Linked DNA regions of Homo sapiens: region 2 is linked to region 1. Evidence: promoter capture Hi-C in human tissues and cell types (Jung and others, 2019). All regions are on one chromosome and are shown on one strand. Each heading gives the region's core, a stretch centred on a gene start or on the middle of the fragment in contact. The rest is flanking DNA. Distances are from core to core; before and after follow the strand shown.

Region 1 (7,102 bases), core at 2,997-5,496:
CCCACCAGCAGGGTATGAAAGTTCCAGTTGCTCCACAACCTTTTAGAAGCTAGAAAAATTGCCATTTAAAATGTCACCATCAGTTTCTTTCTTTCTTTTCTTTTATGATAGTGACCGGCATTCGCCTTTGGAATGTAGGGATCCTTTGTTCTAGGAAGGACCCTTGAGTGACTTCTTGCAGTTTTATCTATTACTTGTGCCCATTCCAGCTCACCTTGAGGTCAGACCCATAGCCCTATTATGACTCTGAAAGAGCAGAGCCAGCTACAAGCCCTCAATGAGTGGCATAAGGTGCCAGAGAAGAGTCTGTCATCATGGGCTCAGCAAAACTGAAATCCCTGGCATATATCATTTTATTCCTCTTCCTAATTTCTCTCCAACTGACGCTGCTTCATATTTCCTCTCTGCCTCCCTCCACTGCGCTTCCCACCCTCACATCTCCAAACCTCTCTACTTTCCTGAATAATTCACCCCAACTCTAAATTCCACATTGTCTTCAGCACAAAGCCAAACCCTTACTTAGCTGAGTTTCTTCTCCCTGGAACAGTGGTTCTCAGAAGGAGGGCCTTGGGTCAGCAGTATCTGCATCCCCTGGGGAATTTGTTAGAAATGCATATTCTGAGGTCACACTCCAGACCTCCTGAACCACAAACTCCGGGATGGGGCCCAGAACTCTGTGTTTTAGCACAGGGCTTGTGATGTGAGCTGGCATTTGAGAGCCACTGCCATGGAGTGTGGTTTGGAGCCAGTTATTGTTGTATAAGCATGTCCCTTGGGGGTCTCATCCGCTATCCTAATAGGCTCTTTGAATGTTTCATCTAACACAAATAAGGGGTCTTTGGTTATGGGGTGGCATATGGAGAATTCTCATGTTTGGAAAATCAGATTTTCTCCACCTCATTTCATCAATATAGAGCAAATTTCCTTCCACCACTGTTGAGTAGGACATTAAGGACCCCTTTTAATTGGCCAGAGACTTGGGTTTTAATGAGTCAGACATCTCTATGTGTCCCTATGTGAGATGCTGTGCCCATGGGTATCATCGTTTTTGCCTAGGAAGGAAAGTGCCTCCTGTGAAGGAAAGACAGGGTTCCACTGCTTTCCTGTAAGGTTTAGTGCCGTGAACGTGTGCCTGATGCCAGGAGGGGAGGAGTGTGGGCTGGTGCCCTGCAGTGCGGCAGCAGTGGGCGGCCTGGGTAGGTTTTTAGCAAGCATCAGTGCCAAGCCTCCAGCTCTCTTTAGTGCAAGCAAGATGCTGGGCCAGCAGGAGGAGGCAGCCAGCCCAGGCCCTATGTCTGCAGGACTCAGCCGGGAGTGGTGATTGTCCCCTGGCAGCAAGGCCCTGGTAGCTTTGAGGCCTCAAAGGGCCAGAAGCAAGATTATAAAGAGACCAGTGAGTGTGGAGTCCAATTCTGAACACCAGGAACAGGAAAATGTTTTTAGGATCAAGGATGCATCATCCTTACGGATCTGGGGGGTCTCCGGGGAGGTAGCTCACATGTTGAGGTGACCTTCTGCTGATGTGGCAGGTGGGAGCCTGTGTTCTACTAACTCAGCCACAGAAAGGAAGTGGGACAACCTTTTGTAGTTATGTGCTGGTGAGGCCTGAGGTATGTGTTATACTTAAAAGGACAAAGCATTCATTTTGTTAGACATTTCTAAACATAATTTCTCATTTGCTTTTGTTAAGTCTCCTAAGATTCCATAGTCTTGATAAAGTACGAGAAAATACCAGAAACCTTGGGTTAGGGGAAGCTGGGGGCCTAGGGGTGTGGCAAGTAAGCAAGAGAATTTAGAGAACTTCGACAGAACAAGTTACCTTACCTCTTTTTCCCACAGCTTCCAGCTAGCTAGTTCTTCTCATCACCGGCGAGGCAATGAGCCTGAAAAGTTACTCCCATATAAATGGGCTGTCTATAATTTGGAATGTAGTTAAATTGGTTTTAAAATCAACTTACAAATTATTTTAAAATACATTAAATAGATGTTTTAAAATACATTTATTTCATGTCGTTTGTCCCCAGGGTTTGGAGTTTGATGTTCTGGACCAAGCGTAGGCTCTGAGCAAATGCTACCAGGGCTGGAGAATCAGTTCTGCCACTTCCTAGTTATGTGATCTTAGACAAATTTCCGCGCCTTAGTTTTCTTCTCAGAGAAATGAGACTAGTCCTATCCACACTATGGACAAGTGGTAGGAGGCGAAGGAGCTCACGTTTGTAAAGAGCCTTGCACGGTGCCTGAGACAAATTCAGTGCTTAGCAAATGTTAGCTCACCTCTCCCTTTTCTTCCTGTATCCGATTTTGTATACAAATGTGTAGAAAATTTACATGAAATAATGCAGAAAGATGAAAATCCATGTTTATTCTTCTTGCATTTGGTGGATGCTAGTTTACACTTCGGTGGAATGGTCAGGTTCTTCCCTCGATGTGCCTTGTGCAGACTGCCCCCTGGGTTGAAGTGGGGTGTTACTACGCAGATGGAAACAGCGGCAGAGGTATTTGCTAAATGTCCCATCAAGAAACGCATACAGGAGAGGGTTGATGCAGCAGTGGGTGGTGGCGATGAGTTTAGTGATGTGAACACTTTTGTCCAGATTGTAGCTGCTCTTGCAGTCACTCAGGGAGAAGTGTTCTTTGAAAGTGGACAGGAAAAATGCAATATTGTAGGGCGCCCACATCAGAAGGAAGACTACCATTATGGCAAAAACAAGCTTGAAAAGGCTATACCTCTGCTCCCTGAACCTTAGTGTTTTTCTCATTTGCACATAGAGAAATGTAAAAATAAATAGGGGGAGGACAAGAACCGAAATGTTCATTTTTAAAGTCAGAAAATGCTTCCAGAATGTCTCATCAGCTGGCAGGAAGGGAGTTCTGCTAAATGCACACTTGTATTTCTGGTCTTCCATCTGAGGTTTATAAACCACGAATTCAGGCAAAGTGGCCAGAATGGCTGTTACCCATGCCAGGACACTTGTAATGATGCCACAGGGCACCCTCCTCCTGGCTGAGAAAAAGTTTCCCTTGTGCAAAAACACTAGGTACCTTTGCACAGTCAGAAGGCAATTGAAAAATGTCTCACTGTACAGGCCCACGAAGTACAGTCCAATGAGAATTTTACACATGGGATCGCCCCCAGCATGAGCCCAGAAGGGCAGGGTAAGCAAGAAACACAAGTTAGAAACTGCCAAGTTTAGAAGATAGATATTTTCCACGCGTTTGAGTCCTTTATATTTTACCAGGATAAGCACAACCAGGAGATTGTCCAGGACACCGATCACAAACACAGCAGAGCAGAGTGATGGCACCAGCTGGGCTGAGAGTGCCTGGGCGTCATACTTGTCACATTGCTCTGCCTCATCGCTCTCCAGTTCACCTTCTATGAGGACATCATATTCATCCTCTGGTGCCAGCGTGTAATTGGCCATCTTCAGACTGCCCTGTGGAGAAATGGGAGATGATTTTCCCCTCCGACAGCTGCCTTATCCTGGAGGAAACAACAAACTGGACCTGGATTCATACAGCCCCACTTTCCCTTTCTGGAGCTACATTTTAGCCAGAGTAATTCCCTATTTCAGAAGACTGAAATAAACATTTCTTTAACGTGTGCCCACTTCCCCAGAGCAGCACCATTCCCAATCTAGTTGTTAAGCATGTAAGTGCTTAGCAGTGTGCCAGGTGCCACGGGAAATAAAGCTGGCATGACACCGCCTTGGTAGAACTTACCTTCTTTTAGCAGAAACAGGACTTGCCTACATGAACACAATATGTAAGAAAATATATAATTAAAGAGAACCAAGTACGATGGCTTACTTTTAAGAAACGGGTGTAGATCATAATTTCTGCATTTTAAAAAGTTTGCTCACCCCCCGAAGCAGCTTCCTGTGACAGCTGAGACGTTTTTCTCTCGAAGGGTATAAATAAATGTTTGCAAAAGTGAAACCATGCTCAGCATCAACATGGCCATAAGGGGTTAAATACATAGATGACACACAGATGACTTACCACTGGGCTGAGCTCCTGCAGGGGAAGGGCGCAGCCTCCAGACCCAGCATCCGGGAGCTGTGGGAATGGCCCCGGACAGTGGATGCCCTCCTTTTGATCAGACTGCTCCTGACCCTGAGGGGCACGAGAAACCACTGTTGATTCCCCTGGTGGCTCTACCCGCCCCACTCACCGAGCTCAGGGACCAACTGAAATAAAGTACTCAAAAGCTCCCCCAGGCCTCCAGAGGATCTCTGAAGCGTCTGAAAGCAACCGGGAAGTTGTTTCCTCCTCCCTCTGGCCCTGTACCCCGCCTTTGATTTCCCTGTGACCTTTGACAGCCGTCTTCTGGCCTTCTGAGATAAGGGAACTGTGTCACTGCCGCTCTGAGTGGTAGCAAGGAAGTGATGTCAAGGTGCTGAGAACTGCCAAGACGCTCTGGCTTGTGGCATGTGACACTCTGAGTAGGTAACAGGTACCAGCTACTGTCAGCAGGGAGGAAGGTATGTGGTGACCACGAGTCCAGACCTGAGGGTCCTGACCCTCTAATGCGGCCTCTCACCAGTGTTCGCAGAAACCCACCCGCTGATTCAATACGGGGACCAGGAACCTGCCATGACAGTCACGGTGTGTTTGGGTTTTTATTGTCATTTTTGAGGGGCACTGTGTGCTTTGGTTAAGACTGAGGCCTCAAAAGAGAATTTTAGGAAAATGGAAGCCACAGGGTGATGTCAGCTGGGAAAAGGCCAGGGGCAGAGGTGGGGTCTCAGCGGCAGTGAGCATAGGGCTGCCCTGGGTGTCAACACTGAGGAAAGCAAAGGGGTTTGCAAGCAGCCAGAAGTGATTGGTGCTGTGACTCATGGGGGAGCTGACCCCACTCGGAAAAGGAGAACCCAGAGGAGGAAAATCCCGTGGTGATGACACAGAGGCGACATCAAGTTGGGTGGGAGAGAATGTGAGGAGGACAAGTTTAACCCCAAACTGAGGCTGGGGGCTAGGGTAGGTTTGAGTCCAGAGAGAAGGAAATTGAGAGAACAGCCCAGATTTGGAATGGTGGGAGGAGGCTGTGGGGAGGGGAGGCTGTGGGAAGAGAGTGGGACGGGGAGGGCACGGTCTGGAAGAAGGACGAACCGAGAAGAGGAACTTGAAAATAATGAAAAAATCTAGATGAGCTTCTCTTGGGTCAACGACTCAGCAGCTGTGACTAACCTAATTTGGGGATCAGACCTATTTGCTTAGAATTTATATATTGATTAAATGACATCCTTTTCCCACCAAAGATGTGTCTGAGGTAGGATTGAATACAAAATTTGTACCTGTCAAAATAGAAATAGAAAATTAAGAAACTAGCCTGGCACTGAGGCGCATTCCTACAGCCCCAGCTACTCAGAAGTATGAGGTGGGAGGGTCGCTTGAGCCCAGGAGTTTGAGGCCAGCCTGGGCAACATAGTGAGATCCCGGATCTATAAACAATATAAAAATTAGCCAGATGCAGTGGCAAGTGCCTGTAATCCCAGACATTCCAGAGGCCAAGGTGGGATGTTCACGTGAGCCCAGGAGTTGGAGGCTGCGGTGAGCCATGATCATGCCACTCTGCACTCTGGCCTGGGTGGCAGAGCGAGACACTGTCTCTGGAAAAAAAAAAGAAGAAGGAGGAGGAGGGGCGGGGAGAGGAAGGGAGGAGAGAGAACTATTAAGAGAAAAATAAACACAGAAAGAGCCCAGACAAATATGTGATTGAGCATTAAATTTAACTCCACGTGTGCCGACAGACAAGGCAGAAAGAGAAACACAATGATGTTTGATGGCAGAGGAGTTGGTGCTGGTGGGAACCTAAGCTGTAAGTGCCCTCTCCTCTCTTGTGTGGGTCTCCTGTGAGTGAGTGAGTGGGGGTCATGGTGCCCTGGGACACTCTTCCCACCCCCTACAGCCTGGGATCAGCAGTGGCCCCTCCTCCTGGGTCTCTCCACCTCCTGCAGCTGGGCAGGACACTCAGGATCTTGAATGAGTAGGTGCGGGCAGCTTTACTCTCGATACTCATGGATCAGTTCCAGGAAAAGGAAGGAAAGTCAAGTCAGACTTTGAAACTTGCAAAACGCTGGGAGTACGCACACTCTTCCTCATTAGTAGAGGACAAAAACAGCAGTCAGGCACCTCATGTACCGCATGTCACAGAGTCATGTGAGATGTGAAATTTCCCAAGTAAAAACACAGAATCATGTGAGGTGTGAAATTTCCCAAAGAAAAATGTTTTGTAAATTCAGGATCACCCTGGCTTACTAATATTAGCATGACCTTCACTTTCAGTATTATTTTATTTTTGCCTGATTCCCAGCATTCTGCCTATCCACACTCAGGCCATGAGGTCCTTGAAACTTCTACATAGGAAGGAAGGAAGAGTTTAGAAGGCTGCAGTTGAGGCGAAAGGAAAGTTCTCTTTATTATTCTCATATCTGAAGCCATAATAGGGCCTCCTTGTTTGTGAAACGACATCACATTCTGCAGCCTTGGCAAGTGGTCCACAAAGCTTACCTCTGAAGGTCTGAGTTCCTCTTTATCACTATAATTTGACCCCAGTTTTAGTCGAAGGAACTATCACTGTATACTCTCATTCCCCACTACGTGTAGATCACTCATTTACTTAATTCAATTATTCAGCAAGTATTTCTAGAGTGCCTAGCCTGTGCCTAGCTCTGTTCCAGGTGCTGGGGATGCACCAATGGACAAAATAGGCAAAAATCCTGACCTTCACAGAGCTCAAGTAAATTGTAGATTAGTAGGAGAGAAGTGCTATGGAGAAGGCGAAGCAGGGAAGGACAGCAAGAGAGGCCAAGGTGGCTCAGGGATCACATTTTAAATAGTGTAGTCAGAAAAAGCCTTGCTGAGAGCTGGCTGTGGTGGCTCATGCCTGTAATCCCAGCACTTTGGGAGGCTGAGGTGGGTGGATCACTTGAGGTCAGGAGTTTGAGAACAGCCTGGCCGACATGGCAAAACTTCATCTCTACTAAAAATACAAAAATTAGCCAGGAGGGGTGGCGATGGGTGCCCGTAATCCCAGCTACTCGGGAGGCTGAAGCAGGAGAATCACTCGAACCCAGGAGGTGGAGGTTGCCGTGAGCCA
Region 2 (7,102 bases), core at 3,244-5,743, 1.3 Mb after region 1:
TAACAAACCTGCACATGTACCCCTTGAACCTAAAATAAAATACCATCAAAAAGATTGTAACCCGATTCAATGTGGAAACTAAAAGTTGGTGTGGGTACAGCAAAGCATGGAAATGCAGCAGTGGGGCAGATATTTAATAGGAGAGTAGCAAATATTTCTCACTAAAGGAATGGCTGCAATTCTATACTTTCTTGCAAAGCTATAACCAAGTGCTTAGGGGACTTAGGCAAGAATGCTGAAGACACAGAATTAGAATAAGCTGTCTTGTCACAGAGAAGCGTGCAAAAGAACAGACCACACACCAAGCAATGCAAGGAAGGACAGGAGAAACTACTCAATCCATGGGGTAGATGAAGGAAGGGCCAAAGTCATGCAATAAAAGCTGGTGTGACCCAAGCCCATGCTGCACAGGCTGCCCATGTCAGCACACCAGACCTCCATCAGCAGAGGCTTCCCACTGATGTTGATTTGACTTCCAGAAAATGAGATTCAATTGAGGGAAAAATAAAACTATGAGTTTAGTTAAAAAGGAAAATGGTAACTCACCCTTGGTATTCTTCAGTTTGCCTCAAAATTATACTGACAGTGTAAGAAAGCGTTGTATTGTAGATTAATTTGCAGTGTTTTTTTCGTTCTTAATTGTACATAAAATAACGGTGTTCTTTACCATGGCAGTAACTTTGATTTGCTGAAGATACTATGTGCAATGGGGGTAGAAAATGAGTTGTCTTCACTTAGGAAAGTACTTTGATAAGGTTAAGTCCTGAGGGAACCTAAAGGTGTTATTAGAATCAAAGCAATACACTGAGAATCAATAGCTGCTAACTTCACAAAAAGAGACACCAGGAGCCTCCTGACAGAAGTCCACAACTCTACTCATGAATTGTTCCTGCTGAAGGAATAAAACAGGAAGGAGATCAGGCCTCCAGCTCCAAATACCAGCTTACAGGAAATACAGAGGGCAAGGGAAGATGTAAAATGACATTAGACTGCAGGACACAGTACGAGACAAATGAATGACCTGATTTCCTCAACAAGTAAATTTCAAAAAAAAAAAAAAATAGAAAGAGAAGGTTCCCCTCTATACAGACTTTATTTTATAAATTAAAATAGATTTACAGACATATCATGGACTTAGTGACGCACTTCCAAAGAACAGAGTATGGAAAGGTGAAATTTAGTAACTTAACAGTGGAGAAACCTAGCAGACACAACCTTAACCAAGTGATGAAGGTTAACATCACCAGAGATGCTGTGGGGACATCATGTACCCCTGATGCACTATGACAAGAAGGGCACATCACGTCTGTGAAATTCTTCCCAAATAGTCCCCCCTTTTTTTTTTTTTTTTGAGATAGAGTCTCGCTCTGTCACCCAGGCTGGAGTGCAGTGGTGTAATCTTGGCTCGCTGCAACCTCCACATCCCAGGTTCAAGCAATTATTGTGCCTTAGCCTCCCAAGTAGCTGGGATTACAGGCATGCGCCACCATACCTGGCTAACTTTTGTATTTTTAGTACAGATGGGGTTTTGCCATGTTGGCCAGGCTGGTCTCAAACTCCTGACCTCAAGTGATCCACCCACCTTAGCCTCCCAAAGTGCTGGGATTACAAGCGTGAGCCACCATGCCTGGCCTTCCCAAAGTGTCTTAATCCCAGCTAATCATGACAAAAATATTGGACAAACCCATATTGAGGGAAACTCTGCAAAATACCTGACCACGACGCCTCAAAATTTTCAAGATCATGAAAAACAAAACCTGAGGACCTGTCACCGATGGGAGGAGTCTGAGACACAATAACTAAATGCAGTGTGGGGTCCTGGATGGGATCTTGAAACAGAAAGAGGACATTCATAGAAAAAGGAGTGAAATTTGAATAAAGTCTGGAGTTTGCTCATAGTAAAGTGCTGATAATATTTTCTTAGTTTTGACAAATATACAGTAATATGCAAGATATTGACATTAGAACTAGCTAGCGAACGAGTGCATGAGCGTTCTCTGTAGTACCTTTGCAGTTTTTCTGTAAATATGACACCAAAATTAAGTTTATTTTTTTAGAAAGACATACCAACCAATTGTAATATAGGAACTTTATTTGGATTCTGATTCAAACAATGAAACTTTTATTTATTTATTTATTTATTTATTTATTTATTTATTTATCTATTTATCTTTTGAGACAGAGTCTTGCTCTGTCACCCAGGCTGGAGAGCAGTGGTGCGTTCTCAGCTCACTGCAGCCTCCACCTCCTGGGGTTCAAGCGATCCTCCCACCTCAGCTTCCCTAGTAGCTGGGACCACAGGCACACACTACCACCCCTGCCTACTTTTTGTATTTAGTAGAGACAGGGTTTACCATGTCGCCCAAGTTGGTCTTGAACTCCTGAGTTCAAACGATCCTCCTGCCTCAGCATCCCAAAGTGCTGGCATTACAGTCATGAGCCACCATGCCTGGCCTAAAATATTTTAAAAATAACATTGATAAGACAATTGGAAACCTCACAGTGACTGGACATTAAATGTGATTAAGGAGTCATGATTCATTCATTTGTAGGTGTGACAATGGCATTGTAGTTATGCTTTTTAAAAAGAGTACATATGAGGTTCCTCGAAGCATTAAGCATGGAATTATCATATGATCCAGCAATTCTACTCTGGGTATATACACAAAAGAACTGAAAACGGCATCTTGAAGAGATATTTGTACAACCATGGTTCAGAGCAGCATTACTCACAATAACTAAAGGGTAGAAACAATCCAAGTGTCCACTGATGGATAAATGGATAAACAAATTGTGGTGTGTATGTGTATCTACACAATGGAATATTATTCAGCTTTAGGAAGGAAGGAAATTGTGACATGCGACAACATGGATGGATCTGGAGGACCTTATGCTAAGTGAAGTAAGCCAGTCTCAAATGGACAAATATACAATTCCATTTACTACCTAGAATAGGCAAATTCATAGAGACAGAAAGTAGAGGCTGGGCGCAGCGGCTCACCCCTGTAATCCCAGCACTTTGGGAGGCCAAGGTGGGTGGATCATGAGGTCAGGAGATTGAGACTATCCAGGCTAACACGGTGAAACCCCATCTCTACTAAAAATATAAAAAATTAGCCGGCCATGGTGGCAGGCGCCTGTAGTCCCAGCTACTCTGGAGGCTGAGGCAGGAGAATGGCATGAACCCGGGAGGCAGAGCTTGCAGTGAGCCGAGATCGCACCACTGCACTCCAGCCTGGGAAACAGAGCGAGACTCCATTTCAAAAAAAAAAAAAAAGAAAGTAGAGTGGTGGATGACAGGGGCTGGAGGGAAGCAAGGAAGGGGAGTTATAGTTTAATGGTTGCAGAGTTTCAGTTCGGGAAGAAGGGAAAGCTCTGGAGATGGATGGTGGTGACAGCTGCAAGACAATATGAATGTACTAATGCCACTAAACTGCACACTTAAAAATGGTTAAAATGGCAAATGTTATGTTATATACATATTCTACCACAATTTTTAAAAAGGGGGTCAGGCACACACCTGGCTAATTTTTAAAATTTATTTGTAGAGACAGGATCTCACTATGTTGCCCAGGCTGGTCTCAAATTCCTAACATCAAGCTATCCTCCTGCCTCAGCCTCCCAAAGTGCTAGGATTATAGGCACAAGCCAGAGCATTCAGCCAGGAACCAAGATTTTTCAGAAAGGAAAGCTCATGAACTATTGGATGGACACCTGGCTTCTGCTCTGAAGGTCACCTGCTATTTGACTCAACTGTGTCACCCTTTCCAGGCCTGCGTCCATCAGGGAGATGTCAACCAGATGAGCTCCAAGTCCTCCTGCTCAACAATGATGTGACTCAATTCCCTCTCCAGGGGGAGGAAAATCCCTGAGAGCACGACTAAAGCTCTTTTCCTCCCAGATTTCAAGGAAACACACAGAAAAGAAAGAAGCAAGGCTGGCAAGCAGAGGCCTGACATGGGGATGGATCATATCCGAGGGTGATGCAGACTCCAGGGATGGGCAGGGTATGGCTCTCTCTACCCTGTGGGCAAGTGACTTACTGAGAGCTGGTTGCACAAGCTTAAGAAAGGAGTAGACATCTATACTCTTCCTCTCTTTTTGCCCCTGGGCATTTCAACTTGATATCTTAGATGGTACAGTTTGAGGAGGTGATGGTGCATGGATCCCAGGCCTCTGGTCGCTTTGGGGTGACCTCAGAAGGTGCTCAGCTACCTGCTGCCGAGTTCCTGAGTCATGCAGAACTGAGTTCATTCAGACTCCATCCGTGGCGGCATGACTAGCTGCTCTGCAAGGATTGTTGTTATTTGTCTTACTCATTCTAAGACTGAAATTATACCAAGTGGTTAACGTTGGGCAAATTACTTGGCAAAGTCAGTCATTCCCAAGGAACTTCTATCTCATCCTGAGACAATGGCAAACTCTTCTGTTTTGAGGCTCACAAAGAAGCTCTGCTCAAACTGTGAATGGGAAGTTTTCTCCCTCAAACAGTAGTTGACATTGACAGTGACACTAAGAGCTATTTGTGCACTGAAAGAATCTCAACTTTATTAACTTGCTTAATCACCGGAAAGGAAAGTTTCGGAGAAGTTACCTGATTTGGACAGATGTTCTGTCCATCCTCTGTTCAAACTGGATAAAGTCCTGGCCCACCGGACTCTGGCCCATCCTACAAGGCAAGGGAGGCTGCTAGACACCCAACATGGCCACAATGACTGCATTCGACCAGGGGCCCTACCCCCTCTTTAAAATGAGCTGTGCATTCATCTTTTCAGGGTCACAAGTTTCAAAGAGCTCCCTGGGCTCAGTGGCCCAGTTGGTGGGGTAATCCACACATCCTTGGCTAATGAGTTCATTCATTCCCCAACTATTTGTTAAGCATTTACTCAATCCTTATCTTCAGCTCCAGAAATATAAAGATGAATAAAACAGACACAGCTTCCTGCCTTGAGGAGCTGACACTTTCAGATTTGAATGAGACTATGAAGAAATTTGTCTGTAGCATTCTCTTTCCAGAACTCTGCACTCCACTTCCATAGCTTACCTCCCCACCAAGCTAATACCCACTCCTTTCATCCCTTGCTCACAACACAGGCAATCTCAGCTAACTTTACTGTGCATTTACTATGTGCCAAGCACTGTGCTAAATGTGTTACATATATTACCTCATTAATCTTTACAACACCCGATTCATGGACCCAGTTCATGGATGAGGAAAGTGAGGCACATGTAGGTGAAAGGAGTTGGCACAAGCCAGTAAAGTTGCAGAGGCAGTATTTGTATTTGTTTTTGTTTTTGTTTGAGATGGAGTCTCGCTTTGTCACCCAGGCTGGAGTGCAGTGGTGCAATCTCAGCTCACCACAACCTCCACCTCCCGGGTTTAGGTGATTCTCCTGCCTCATCCTCCTGAGTAGCTGGGACTACAGGATCATACCACCATGCCTGGCTAATTTTTGTATTTTTAGTAGAGACGGGGTTTCACCGTGTTGGCCAGGCTGGTCTTGAACTCCTGATCTTAGGTGATCTGCTTGCCTCAGCCTCCCAAATTGCTGGGATTACAGGCGTGAGCCACCGCACCCGGCAAGAGACAGTATTTGAATCCAGGACATCTGACTGCAGAATGCACATTCATAGTCGCTGAGCCATTCCATCTTACCCACTTAGGTCAAGTCCTTTATTTGCAGTGAATCACATGGGTTTGCTCTCCCTTCCATTTTCCATAGCAGCAGAAAAATCTCCTAAGCCTGCCTTAGGATGGGGTTCAGGCACAAGTGACTGGAAGCTTAAAAAAGAGACGTTTATTCTTCTTTCATGTAAAAAGCTAGGTAGGTATCCAGGGCTGGTGCAGGCTCCTTCTCTGTGCTTGTTCAGGTGTACGTGGCTCAAGGGCATTTGCAGAGCACAGGTTTGTGTCGGGGGCGGGGGGGGGGTGGTCTTAACCAAGCACCATTATTATTTGAGAATCTCATCACTAAAAGCAATGGCTCCATTTGATTTAACTCCGCCCATCTGTTCACTCAGGAGAGAAGGGTGGCTACGGAATTCAGGGCCCAGTGTAGTTGGCCATGTGTTTATGGCTTGACTCAGTCTGGATGCTGGGCTCTCTAAGTCTGGGGCACATCACCCTGGGAGTTCCTTGACTCTCCCTTGGGCTGTATCTGTACTTCATATATCTAGAGGCAAGTACACAAAGAAGCTAAGAAAGCTCCAGTGTGCTTCCCTGGTCATAGGTCTTTGTCAAATTTGCAAAGGCACGTATTCTGACTGCCAAAAAAAGCCTTCCCTCCACTTTCTTTCCATCAAACTTCCCCTTATACAATGTAGCATTGATTGGCTGTGGGCATTTTGGGATCAGGCTAAAGGGATGTTAACTCAGACATACATTTATTATAATTGGGGTCTGGTGGGATATATTTATTTGATTCATGGTCACATTCATGTATAGTTAAGCCATTGCTTGTTCTCACATTGTAGTAATGGCTTCTAGGAATACTCCTCCCATCCACTGGGCTGACTCACAAGGTAAGGTGACCAGAAGGAGCAAGGCCAGAGGTGATATTACATTATGAACCTGTGCTACAGTGTCCAACACCCAGAGTATGTGCACAGTGGAGGAGGAGGAATAAAGTGAAATGTACAGATCCGGAAGAAGCTAGTCTGTGGAAAATTTTTCCAATTATCAAAGCTAAAATTTTAAGCAGAACATGCAACTCATCATGGCTTATCAAAAATGATGGGCTTTTTTTTCTGTCAGAAACAAATTGGTAATCAGCAGTATAATTTTGAATGCACTATACTATTTTGATCTTTATATTTAATAGGAATCACACAAATGGAATTTATAGGAATTTCTGTATTTGTAGGGCACAAAACTATAATGGTTCTATGGACAGTGAGTATTTCTGCATGTGAATTCACAGGTCTTACGGATCTCAACATATCAGTTGCATCTTATCTGATGCATCTTGCAAAATGACCTGGAGAATGACTTAGAGTTGAACCAGACAATTAACAGTAAAAATACTATGTTATTTTTTCTGGATTTTGGAACATTTGTGATATTTTTCCATTTGTAATTCATTGAGATTTCTTTCCTCAGTCT

What was found. Contacts are between HindIII fragments. The study calls those that stand out against the background at their distance.
Region 2: a fragment that was not itself captured here is called in contact with the fragment with the promoter of CCRL2 in region 1 in 1 of the 25 tissues and cell types used here (lymphoblastoid cells).

The regions. Positions count from the first base shown.
Region 1 is chr3:46,404,403-46,411,504 of GRCh38, reverse strand. It overlaps CCRL2 (C-C motif chemokine receptor like 2), which reads right to left and starts at 4,246. Exons shown (of 2, transcript NM_003965.5): 1 at 4,003-4,246; 2 at 1,982-3,437. The coding sequence starts at 3,425. The coding sequence ends at 2,391. It overlaps CCR5AS (CCR5 antisense RNA), which reads left to right and starts at 4,439. Exons shown (of 4, transcript NR_125406.2): 1 at 4,439-4,608. The HindIII fragment of the contact is 5,778 bases long and covers 1-4,610 here.
Region 2 is chr3:45,151,940-45,159,041 of GRCh38, reverse strand. No RefSeq gene overlaps it. Among named protein-coding and RNA genes, the nearest start is that of CDCP1, 9.1 kb to the right of the region's middle. The HindIII fragment of the contact is 6,481 bases long and covers 1,253-7,102 here.